2 separate regions of the Homo sapiens genome follow, and region 2 is linked to region 1. Evidence: promoter capture Hi-C in 16 types of primary human blood cells and fetal thymus (Javierre and others, 2016). All regions are on one chromosome and are shown on one strand. Each heading gives the region's core, a stretch centred on a gene start or on the middle of the fragment in contact. The rest is flanking DNA. Distances are from core to core; before and after follow the strand shown. Region 1 holds the start of PTPRJ (protein tyrosine phosphatase receptor type J). Region 2 overlaps CELF1 (CUGBP Elav-like family member 1).

Evidence for each region. The method cuts DNA at HindIII sites, captures the fragments that hold promoters and counts their contacts. A CHiCAGO score of 5 or more calls a contact.
Region 2: a fragment that was not itself captured here is called in contact with the fragment with the promoter of PTPRJ in region 1 in 1 of 17 cell types (activated CD4 T cells); the score reaches 5.3 in activated CD4 T cells.

Annotation. Positions count from the first base shown.
Region 1 is chr11:47,978,084-47,983,758 of GRCh38, forward strand. PTPRJ (protein tyrosine phosphatase receptor type J) reads left to right here and starts at 2,476. Exons shown (of 25, transcript NM_002843.4): 1 at 2,476-2,925. The coding sequence starts at 2,830. RefSeq lists silencers at 2,387-2,976, 3,077-3,506. The HindIII fragment of the contact is 2,862 bases long and covers 1,672-4,533 here.
Region 2 is chr11:47,519,212-47,524,886 of GRCh38, forward strand. The region is part of intron 1 of CELF1 (CUGBP Elav-like family member 1); the gene reads right to left. Among named protein-coding and RNA genes, the nearest start is that of CELF1, 31 kb to the right of the region's middle. RefSeq lists a silencer at 5,627-5,675. The HindIII fragment of the contact is 1,414 bases long and covers 2,493-3,906 here.

The sequences.
Region 1 (5,675 bases), core at 1,226-3,725:
GCAATCATCCTTGGCTACCCAGTAGCATCTTTTTTTTTTTTTTTTGAGATAGAGTTTCACTCTTGTTGCCCAGGCTGGAGTGCCATGGCGCGATCTCTGCTCACTGCAACCTCTGCCTCCTGGGTTCAAACGATTCCCCTGCCTCAGCCTCCCGAGTAGCTGGGATTACAGGCATGCGCCACTACACCCAGCTCATTTTGTATTTTTAGTAGAGACAGGGTTTTTCCATGTTGGTCAGGTGGTCTTGAACTCCCGACCTCAGGTGATCCGCCCACCTTAGCCTCCCAAAGTGCTGGGATTATAGGCGTGAGCCACTGTGCCCAGCCCCCTGGTAGCATCTTAAATCAAGCTTTCCTTCCCTCTGGGTATCATGGACATGAACACCTTTTATGTCTCTGCCTCAAGAGGGGAGGAGGCACAGAGGAACAAAAATCCTTGTGAATTATGATAATTACATAGTGTTTAAATGAAGGGTGGCAAGGTGTGTAAGTCCATAGGTAAGGTTTCTTTTTTCTTTTTCTTTTCTTTTTTTTGAGATGGAGTCTCACTCTGTCACCCAGGCTGGAGTGCAGTGGTGCAATCTTGGCTCACTGCAACCTCCGTCTCCCGGGTTCAAGCGATTCTCCTGCCCTCAGCCTCTGGAGTAGCTGAGATTACAGGCACGCCATCACGCCCAGCTAACTTTTGTATTTTTAGTAGAGATGGGTTTTCACCATGTTGGCCAAGCTGGTCTCGCACTCCTGACCTCAAGTGATCTGCCTGCCCCGGCCTCCTGAAGTGCTGGGGTTACAGGTGTGGTGTGAGCCACCACGCCCAGCCTCTTCTTTTTTTTTTTTTTTTTTTTGAGACAGGTTTTCACGTTATTCCCCAGGTTGGAGTGCAGTGTTGCCATCTTGGTTTACTGCAGCCTAGGTTCAAGCCATCCTTGTATCGGCCTCCCAGGTAGCTTAGTCTACAGCTGTGTGCCACCACACCCGGCTAATTTTTGTAGAAACTGGGTTTCACCCCGTTGCCCAGGCTGGTTTCGAACTCTTGAGCTTAAGTGATCTAGTCACCTTGGCCTCCGGAAGTGCTGGGATTACAGGCGTGAGCCATCGTGCGGCCTGGCAAAGTTTCTTTATCCTCAGTGCTTGTCTGGGTGTGTTGTCTGGTGGGAACCACTTAGACCCTGTAAGTGAATGTGTATTCCCATCTTGTAGATGGTAACCTGAGGCCCAACGGGTGTCTGGAGGTAGTGTTGGACACCTCGTGGTCTGCATCTTGCTGCACACAGAATCCAGCCTAGACTCATTATCCTGGCCTTTGAAGTCTCCCCCAGTATGAATCCCCCAGCCTCCCATTCCTGTTTCTCCGAAGGCCAAGCTCGAAGCATCTGCTGCCTCGTTTCTGCCAAGTTGGCCCCACCTCCTGAGACACTTCTCCCCTCTACTGGCCTGGTGAAACTCAACACATCCTTCAAAGCCCAGCTCAGGTGTCACCTCTCTCCTGGTTGGAATTAACCTCTTCCTCCTTAGCACTCTCTGGTTTGGCCCTTTCTCTTGCGGCTTCTCCTGGGCAAGTGGCATAGCCTCCCTGATCCTAGTGTCTTCCTCTGTGCATGGGCACAGGAGTAATATCTGCTGTGATCTTTAACTCCTGTCAGTTCATTGACCTCTTTAACAACGTGATGAAAGCTTCCAGAAGAGCTAATGTATGTGGAGTCCCACGATGTGTCAGGCTAGGTGTTTAGGACTTTACTAACTACTGTCTCGTTTAATCGCGAATGCAGTGGACCTCTCTCTCCACACGTCCTAGTACGATCTTTATTTCACACGGGAGGAGAGGAGGGTGGGTGGGGTCGGCCAGAGAGGAGAAATGCGTCTCCAGAGTTCACAGGGCTGGTACTACCAGCAGAGCCCCGTCCACCATATGCCACAGCTGGGGTTCTAATCCCTGGACTGGCTTGTACTGGGCTCTCTGCCTCCCTGGCCGGCGCTCGGGGGCTGGGGGACAGAACACAATGTACAGCGTGCCTTCTACAATTTCGGGGTTCACGCACCCCCAAGCCCACCCAGGGCCAGGTCAAACGCGCCTTCGCCGGGTTGCTGTCTACAATCAGGCTTGGCTGCGCTCTCAGTAGGGGTCTCGGTCAACCTCTGCCCACCCGAACCCGGCGCCGTGGACCTGGTGTGAGGCTGGGGAGCCCGTCCTGAGGGGTGCCGGCTCGAGGCGCTAGAGCCACGGAGCCTGGTCCCGGGCTCCAAGTCCCAGGAATGTGGGAGGGCTGGGCGGAGGGGCGGGCGAGGCGGGAGCGCTTCCTCTGCCCGCGGGAGGGGATCCGCGGCCGGCTCGGAGGGGGCGGGGGCAGCGGCGGGCGGCGGCGAGGGGCTGCGGAGCTCCGCAGCCGCCGGGCCGGCCGGGGCGGGAGGAAGCGATGAATATTCAGAGGGGGAGGGGAAGGGAGGGGGCCGAGCGCTCGCCGCGGCTCCCTGCAGCAGCCCCAGCCGCATGACGCGCGGAGGAGGCAGCGGGAGCAGCCGCGGGAGCCGGGACCGGGTAGCCGCGCGCTGGGGGTGGGCGCCGCTCGCTCCGCCCCGCGAAGCCCCTGCGCGCTCAGGGACGCGGCCCCCCCGCGGCAGCCGCGCTAGGCTCCGGCGTGTGGCCGCGGCCGCCGCCGCCGCTGCCATGTCTCCGGGGAAGCCCGGGGCGGGCGGAGCGGGGACGAGGCGGACCGGCTGGCGGAGGAGGAGGCGAAGGAGACGGCAGGAGGCGGCGACGACGGTGCCCGGGCTCGGGCGCACGGCGGGGCCCGATTCGCGCGTCCGGGGCACGTTCCAGGGCGCGCGGGGCATGAAGCCGGCGGCGCGGGAGGCGCGGCTGCCTCCGCGCTCGCCCGGGCTGCGCTGGGCGCTGCCGCTGCTGCTGCTGCTGCTGCGCCTGGGCCAGGTAAGCGCCGGGTGGGCTCGGGCGGGGGGCAGGAGGCTGGGGCGGGACTGGCATTGACTGCACCTGCCCGAGCGTACCCCCCCGGGGGGTTCCGGGGAAGGGGGCGGGGGTCCGGATCCCCGGATCCCCGGAAGGCGACTTGCGGGGACCCCGGCCGGCCTCGCACGCCGGCGATCGATCCCTTTTCCGGCTGCCCAGGATCGGGGGAGAGAGGCGGGATCCGGGTGCCGCGGTGCCCGAGCCTCCCGGGGAAAGCCTCCGCGCGGGCTCCAGGCCGTCCCTGGCCCGGCTCTTCCCGGCGCTGGGCACATCTGGCGGGCACGGGCCCGGCTTCCTAGCCGGAGGCGGCCGGAGGGGGCGTGTTTGCGGAGGTCTGGGGACGCAGAGCCGGGCGGCCTGGCTGAGCCTTTGCCGACAGACCTCCGACCCGGCCTGCAGGGGCCCGAGGGGCGGCGGGGGCGACAGGGCAGGGCCAGGCGCTGGGCAGTGGGGCCCTGGGCGAGGCGCGGGACTCCGGGCCGAGGGCCCTGTTCCTGGGGAAAGTTCCCAGGCCGGGGAAAAGGTGGCCGCACGCTGGCTTTTCTCAAGGCAGCCGGCCCTCTTGGCGTCGTGCTTGATTTCATGGGTGTTTAATTCGTGCTTTGTGGGCGCTGGCTCCCCCTCCCCACCCCACCCTCACCCTCTTTTCTGGCTTCACTTTTCAGATAATGCTGTCCCTGGCGTTTTGGTGACCGACCTTTCCCCTTCCTGGCATTTCCATAGGGGCTGAGGCAGAGCAGCTGAAGGGGCATTCCCATTTCACAGATGGGGAACTGAGGGAGAGAAGTGAAATAGCGGAGCACCCAGCCCGTGCCATGGGAGCTGAGCCAGCGGGCACGTCCTCTTAGCCTCTGGAGCCTGTTGGGGTTTGAACCCGCAGGGGAAGCGGTCTAGGGCTGCCTTGCTGTGCGTTTCTGCAAATGACCATCTTGCTTGTTTTATACAGACACCATCTCTGAGGAAATGAGTTATTGGCTGGGGATGGAACCTGGTTTCAGGGAAAACTTCTCCAGCGCGAATACAGGAGAGAGCAGAAGCATCACCCTGGGGCAGCAATGCCGCCTAGCAGGCTGTAGGAGAAGGGGGCTGGGGCCTGGGGGCTGCGTGACCCTCGGCACCCAAGGGTCTCTCCTCGCAGTTTCCCCAGCAGGTTCTGCACAGGCTCTCCTGGGGGCCAGAAGGCAATGTGACCTCCTGCAGAGAACCTGGGAGTAGATGTCAGGAGACTGGCTCCAGGGCCGGGCCACAGGGCTGGACTTGCTCTTCAGGCTTCTCTACCCTCAGTTAACCGCATCTGTAGAATGAGTATAGCACCCTCTGCCCAATGGAATTGTTTGAGGGGCTTCCACTGGCCAATGTCTAAAAGAACTTTGTAAATATTAAGGGTTTCCACATGGGATTCTCATTATTAAGGTACAGTGCCTGTGGGGGCTGTCTTCTCCCTGTCCATGTAAGGAAATTCAGGGAAGCAGTGTCTGAAGTTAAAAAAGCCTTGTATTTGAAGATTTCTTGTATCAAAAGTTTATGCTAAAACAAAAACCACAAAAAACAGAAAACCCCCAAACTTAAAGCTTCATTTATTTTTAAATGTATAATATATGTAATTTTTTTTTTGCTTCAGCAAAAAAATTTTAAATTATATATATATAAAATTTATTTATTTTTGCTCCAGCCATAGTGGTTGCTAGCTGTGTTCTCAATCAGCAAAAAGTTTCTTGGGTAAATTTATTGCTTGCTCAATCCTTCCTTGTATTTCATTAGCATATTGCCACTCTACACTTGTCCTGTATTTAGATATTTCCTTCCTCTATGGTTTGTTCTGTAGAACCTCAAAAGGACTCTCTTATTTCTTTTTTTTTTGGACACATTATGAAATAGGAAGTCTAAAAGGCTCCCAGAAGAAGCATCTTCAAAATCCACATTCAGCAGTTCATTTTGATAATGGATATTTCAGGGAATCAGTGCATTTTTGAGCTGGACCAGACTTTCAAGACAGCTGAAACCCCTCAGAGCTCTTAGATGAGGATATTGATGTCCAGAGAAGACAGGGAGCAGGCTGAGGTCACCCAGCAAGGTATTAGAGAAGACAAGATGGGAACCTGGGTCACCGGCCTGGGCCTCATATTTTCAAAGTGCTATTTTTTTTTTTCCCGTGTTTTCACTTTGATCTTACTTTTAATGATAGGGACGTATCACTGTGTCTTCTCAAAATGGTGGGTGTGAATGGAATTTTTCAAAGTTGAATCAATTTGAGATATTTCTGAAGTTTGTTTAGGAAACAAGTATGTGACTACCTTCCTAAGAGCTGACTGGTTTTTTGAGGCCTGGATTGTGTGTGTATGTGCTTATGTGTGTGTTATAAAATGGAATCAACTATACCAGGTTAAACAAATGGACAAGTCATGGAAAAGACACAGCTCTGTTTGGACATTAATAAGGGCGGGTGTGGAAGCTGGAAAGCTGAGATGCCGGAAGGCTCAGTGCTTAGTAGGCCCGGAAAAGCAATTTTTGAACTGGCATCTCATTCCCCTTTTCTAAGACAGGAAGGACGGTCAGAGATGATTCCAACATGAGGACTTTGCTAGTTGCAGTGTCTGACTCCTCCCATTCTCATAGCAGTTTTGCACAGTAGTTTTGGTTTGTGTGTATGTTTTAGGCAATGTGACAAAGCAGTTTTCCTCCTGCCTCCTTGAGAAATTTAATCCTGACAG
Region 2 (5,675 bases), core at 1,950-4,449, 460 kb before region 1:
TGGCTGGCCTGTAATCCCAGCATTTTGGGAGGCCGAGGCAGGTGGATCACTTGAGGTCAGAGTTCGAGACCAGCCTGGCCAACGGGGTGAAACCCCATCTCTACTACAAATACAAACAAATTAGCCCGGCGTGGAGGCGGGAACCTGTAATCCCAGTTACTTGGGAGGCTGGGGCAGAAGAATCACTTGAACAGGGAGGCACAGGTTGCAGTGAGCTGAGATCACACCACTGCACTCCAGCCTGTGTGACAGAGCGAGACTCCATCTCTAAATAAATAAATAAATAAATAAATAAATAAATAAATAAATAAATAAGGTACTTCAATTATCATGCTTTCATCACTCTGCAATTGTGCTCCTAAAGGTGCTTCTCGCCGGGCGTGGTGGCTCACGCCTATAATCCCAGCACTTGCACTTTGGGAGGCCAAGGCGGGTGGATCACAAGGTCAGGAGATCGAGACCATCCTGGCTAACACGGTGAAACCCCTACTGAAAATAAAAATTAGCTGGGCGTGGTCGTGGGCGCCTGTAGTCCCCGCTACTCGGGAGGCTGAGGCAGGAGAATGGCATGAACCCAGGAGGCGCAGCTTTTAGTGAGCTGAGATCGTGCCACTGCATTCCAGCCTGGGCGACGGAGCCAGACTCCGTCTCAAAAAAAAAAAAAAGGAGTGCTTCTCACATTTAAATACCCACTTAAATCATCTGTCACATCCTTCAAATCACTCCTAAAAAAACTCAACTGTTCCACAAAATTTAACTTGTCAGTGCTTTGATTTCATTTTTACAAAAACAAGCTCTTAAAAAAAAAAGCCAGGAGATCTATCAATCAAAAAAGCAACTACATTTTTAGAAAACATCTACTATATACCCAGAACTAAAGAGGATACCAAAAAAAAAGGCACAATCCCTGTCCTTAAGGAGTTAATGGTCTTGTTCAGAAAATACGACTTGCACTAGAAACAAGAAACATGGGAGAGCATCTATCTAAGGGAAAATGTTACCATAAATGTGAAAGACTTAAAAAATCTCAGGAGAGCTGATTCTTATTTCCCTGTCTAAATCAAATTTTTGTGCTATTTCATCACACTGTCCATGATACAATACATTTTTTGCTACCCTCCACTGAATTACATGGCCTACTAATAATTCCTTCATCATCATTTCTTTTGAACAGACTTCTCTGTGTTTTCCTGTCACTCTCACACAGATTATAAGTTTATGGATATGGCAAAACTTGCTGGTTCTACCTTCCCATGCTCCCCTTGTAAGGGCATCTCCGGAAGATGTGTGGTGCAGGAACGAGGTAAAGAAGCAGGCCAGGCACTGTGGCTCATGCCTGTAATCCCAGCACTTTGGGAAGCCGAGGTGGGCAGATCACTTGAGCTCAGGAGTTCAAGACCAGCCTGGGCAACATGGCAAAACCCTACCTCTACCCAAAAAATACAAAAAAATTAACTGGGCATGGCGGCATGTGCCTGTGGTCCCAGCCACTCAGGAGGCTGAGGTGGGAGGATCACTTGACCCTGGGAGCAGAGGTTGTGGTGAGCCAAGATTGTGCCACTGCCCTCCAGCCTGGGTCAGTGAGAACCAATCTCTTCCTGCGCTCCCCCCCGACCCAAAAAAGGCTAAAATTAATTCTGCTTTCAATATCTTCAGTAAATAGTCTGGTACTAGTGGAGATAAACTAGTAATTTTAGAGATGTTTCACAAACTTGTTACTTGGCTTGCTGTTCTTTACCACCAATAAATGAACTAGAGGGCCGGGCGTGGTGGCTCACGCCTGTAATCCCAGCACTCTGGGAGGCCAAGATGGGCGGATCACGAAGTTAGGAGATCGAGTCCATCCTGGCTAATACAGTGAAACCCCATCTCTACTAAAAATACAAAAAAATTAGCCGGGCATAGTGGCGGGCGCCTGTAGTCCCAGCTACTCCGGAGGCTGAGGCAGGAGAATGGCGTGAACCTGGGAGGCGGAGTTTGCAGTGAGCCGACGTCGTGCCACTGCACTCCAGCCTGGGCGACTGAGAGAGACTCCGTCTCCAAAAATAAAAAATAAAATAAAAAATAAATGAACTAGTACAGTTGATGGTGATCTGCAAAACCAAAATCATATAGTTATTTTCATAAGGAAATTCTAAAATGAAAATGGGTTAGACTGATTCATAATTTAATAATCTCAAATAACAAAGTGTGCTAATAAAATAGACAAATATTTACTACAAACCCACAATGTACCCTATACCTAGACTCTAGAGTCATACCACTGCTTTCTAATCCCAGTTTTGCTGCTTACTAGCCAGGTAACTGGGGAAATTGTTTAACTTCTTCATAAATACCTCTGTTTCTTCATGCACAAAATGGTTACACAAACAGTATCTACCTTACAGGATATTTGTTAGAATTAAATTTATACATGTAAAGCATTTAGAATAGTGCCTGACACATAGAAAGTGCTCAATAAACATTTGCTACTATTATTATTCTGGGCACCAAGCTTGGTGTTTATGGTGGAAAAGAATGAGTCCCAAAAAATTTCAGCCTGTTACATGATGATTCTATCTCTTCAAAATAAAGTACCTGATCTTAAGATGTACTGTACAACGCTCAATGGTTATGTTACTCAAAGACAACAGGTTCATCTGTTTACTGAGCTAGAAACATAGTGTGTAGTTTCACTTTTTAAAATGCAACAGCTATGCTGATTTTTTTTTTTTTTTGACACGGGTTTTGCTCTTGTTGCCCAGGCTGGAGTGCAATGGCATGATCTCAGCTCATCACAACCTCCATCTCCCGGATTCGAGAGATTCTCCGGCCTCAGCCTCCCGAGTAGCTGGGATTACTGGCATGTGCCACCAAGCCTGGCTGATTTTTTTGTATTTTTAGTAGACACGGGGTTTCTCCATGTTGGTCAGGCTGGTCTTGAACTCCCGACCTCAGGTGATCTGCCTGCCTCGGCCTCCCAAAGTGCTAGGATTACAGGTGTGAGCCACCTTGCCCAGCTGAAATTTTTTTTATCATTAACACTTGAAGTAGGCCGGGCATGGTGGCTCAAGCCTGTAACCCCAGCACTTTGGGAGGCCAAGGCAGGTGGATCACCCGAGATCAGGAGTTGGAGACCAGCCTGGCCAACATGGTGAAACCCCATCTCTACTAAAAATACAAAAATTAGCTGGGCATGGTGGTGGGCGTCTGAAGTCCCAGCTACTACTACGGAGGCTGAGTCAGGAGAACCCGGGAGGCAGAGGTTGCAGTGAGCTGAGATTGTGCCATTGCACTCCAGCCTTGGTGACAGAGCAAGATTCTGTCTAAAACAACAACAACAACAACAACAAAACGCCAGGCACAGTGGCTCAGGCCTGTAATCCCAGCACTTTGGGAGGCCAAGGTGGGTGGATCACCTGAGGTCAGGAGTTCGAGACCAGCCTGGCCAACGTGGTGAAACCCCATCTCTACTAAAATACAAAAATTAGCCAGGTGTGGTGGCATGCGCTTGTAGTCGCAGCTACTCAGAGGCTGAGGCAGGAGAATTGCTTGAACCTGGGAGGTGGAGGCTGCAGTGAGCTGAGTTCGTGCCACTGCACTCCAGCCTGGGCAACAGAGCGAGACTCCATCTCCAGAAAAAAAAAAAAAAAAGCAAACTTGAAGTAATAAAATAGGCTTCATTTATTTAAAAAAAAAATTGGGTACCTGAGATTATTCCAAAATATTTCCTAGCAGGAGGGGGAAGTGAATAGGTAAGAATTCTGGCAGCAATAGGCTGACAGATCTTGCACCTCCAACTGGGCCTGTTAGAGTCCAGTATATCTTCATTATGGATTACCAAACCACTTGTTCTGAGAACACTTATTTATGTATAAACATTTATTCATTCCTTCCATCAAACCAAAAAAAAAATTTCTTTCATGAAGCTTTCAAAATGGACACACTGGAAAAATATAAACTAATAAAATGAGACCAGGGAAGTTATAAATTTTAAAAAAGGCCAAGAACAAAAAGAAAGCTAGAATATAGGTGTGCTAATCAGAGTGTCACTTACTGAGGCTGAGCTGTAAAATCAAAGAGCTGCCACTGATTTTAATCTCCAATGACAGGCTCTACATAGGGTGCACAATGATTCATAGTATAAATGGGAAAACATTAGGACAGTAAAATGAGAAGGGCACTAAGAATAGCCAAGAAAGAGAAGATGAAGCAGATATAATGCCACACTCAAAAGAATTTGGAAAGTCAGTAAATATACAGGATCCAGGAGAGGCTAAGCACCAGGTCCTAGACCCTAAACAAATAAGCATCCAAAACCTACAATGCACAAGGTGCAGAAGAGATCCCTAAGTGATTCAGAGCCAGAATACATCAGTGTATAGTCACACAGAACTCTGCATCCATACCACACAGCCACAGAAGAAGCTGCCTCAATCAAGGTGTTTCTCCAGCATTTAATAACGTCCTTTCCTCTCCTCATTGACTACAGTTACAAATAGTATGGGCAGAGAACTGTCTCATCCCCACTCAGCTGACAAGTTCTATTCCCAACACTGCATGCTTATGACTCATGAGGGGATGGGGGAGGGGAGTGAAAGGAAACTGTAAAACAAAGCAACAAACTTGAATTTAGACTTACACTGACCAGGAGTAAGAATTCATCACTGTTTAATTAGAATATCTCATAACAAACCAAGAAAGTATCCTTTTAAAATACAGTAACAAACCCAGTATCTTCTGAAAATAACCTGAAATTTGTCTACATGTCATGTCTTCTGCTATTCCTTAAACAGACATGACACCAAAAGGCATTACAAGGCCTCTGTAAGGCCAAACTTTACAAAGCACTCAAACAGCGCAAACAGCATAGGTTGCTGTGGGGCCCAAAGCAACAGGGCATTCCCCACAGTTCCTTTCCTGGCAGACAGCGAAGTCAACACACTTAACCCCTACTGCACTCTTTCAAGATGTGCACTAAATCATTTCTTAAAGGGGTGGAGGTGCCTCATCTTTTTATACTCAAATTTTATGTCAAAAAATTTGAGTGCCAGGAAAGGAATTCAATACCACCCCAAGAGCTGATCTTTGTGACCTGTAACAAAACAAAGAGGAAAAAAAAAACACTACCACTTCAACAAGGTATGTTTCTAAGGGAACCCAAAGACCATTTCTGACATCACATTTCCCTGTTTGGTACCCTCTCGCCAAGACGGTATTTTGTTAAATACAAATCTTGTCTCCTCACCCCATCCCTAACAACCTGAAGCATTCTCTACAATTTACAATTGACAAACCTGAACACAGCAAAACAACAAAGACAAACGAGTCACCTCTTTCACTTGAAAACCTCAGTCCTCCACAGAGACGCACACAGACAGACAGATGGATGCACGTAAGAACACAAACTGTGTGCCCTGGCTGAGTCCTGAGCAGGTCTGAGCCGGTGCGGGTGCCAAAGGGTGGCCACACGGCCTAGCTAGTGGGCTGCTCCTGCTGTTGCTGTACAAATATAGCAAGCTAAAAAGTGGAACAGCAGCTTCAGCAGAACAGATTCTGCTCCGTGCTCAGAGAGGGAGGAGCAGGGAACTGAACAGCTTTACCCATACATGGTTGCTGAAAGGGGGCCATTAGTGAAAGCCCAATTATCTCACACACATGCATTCTGTTCACATGCTCCAGACAAAAAACAGAAA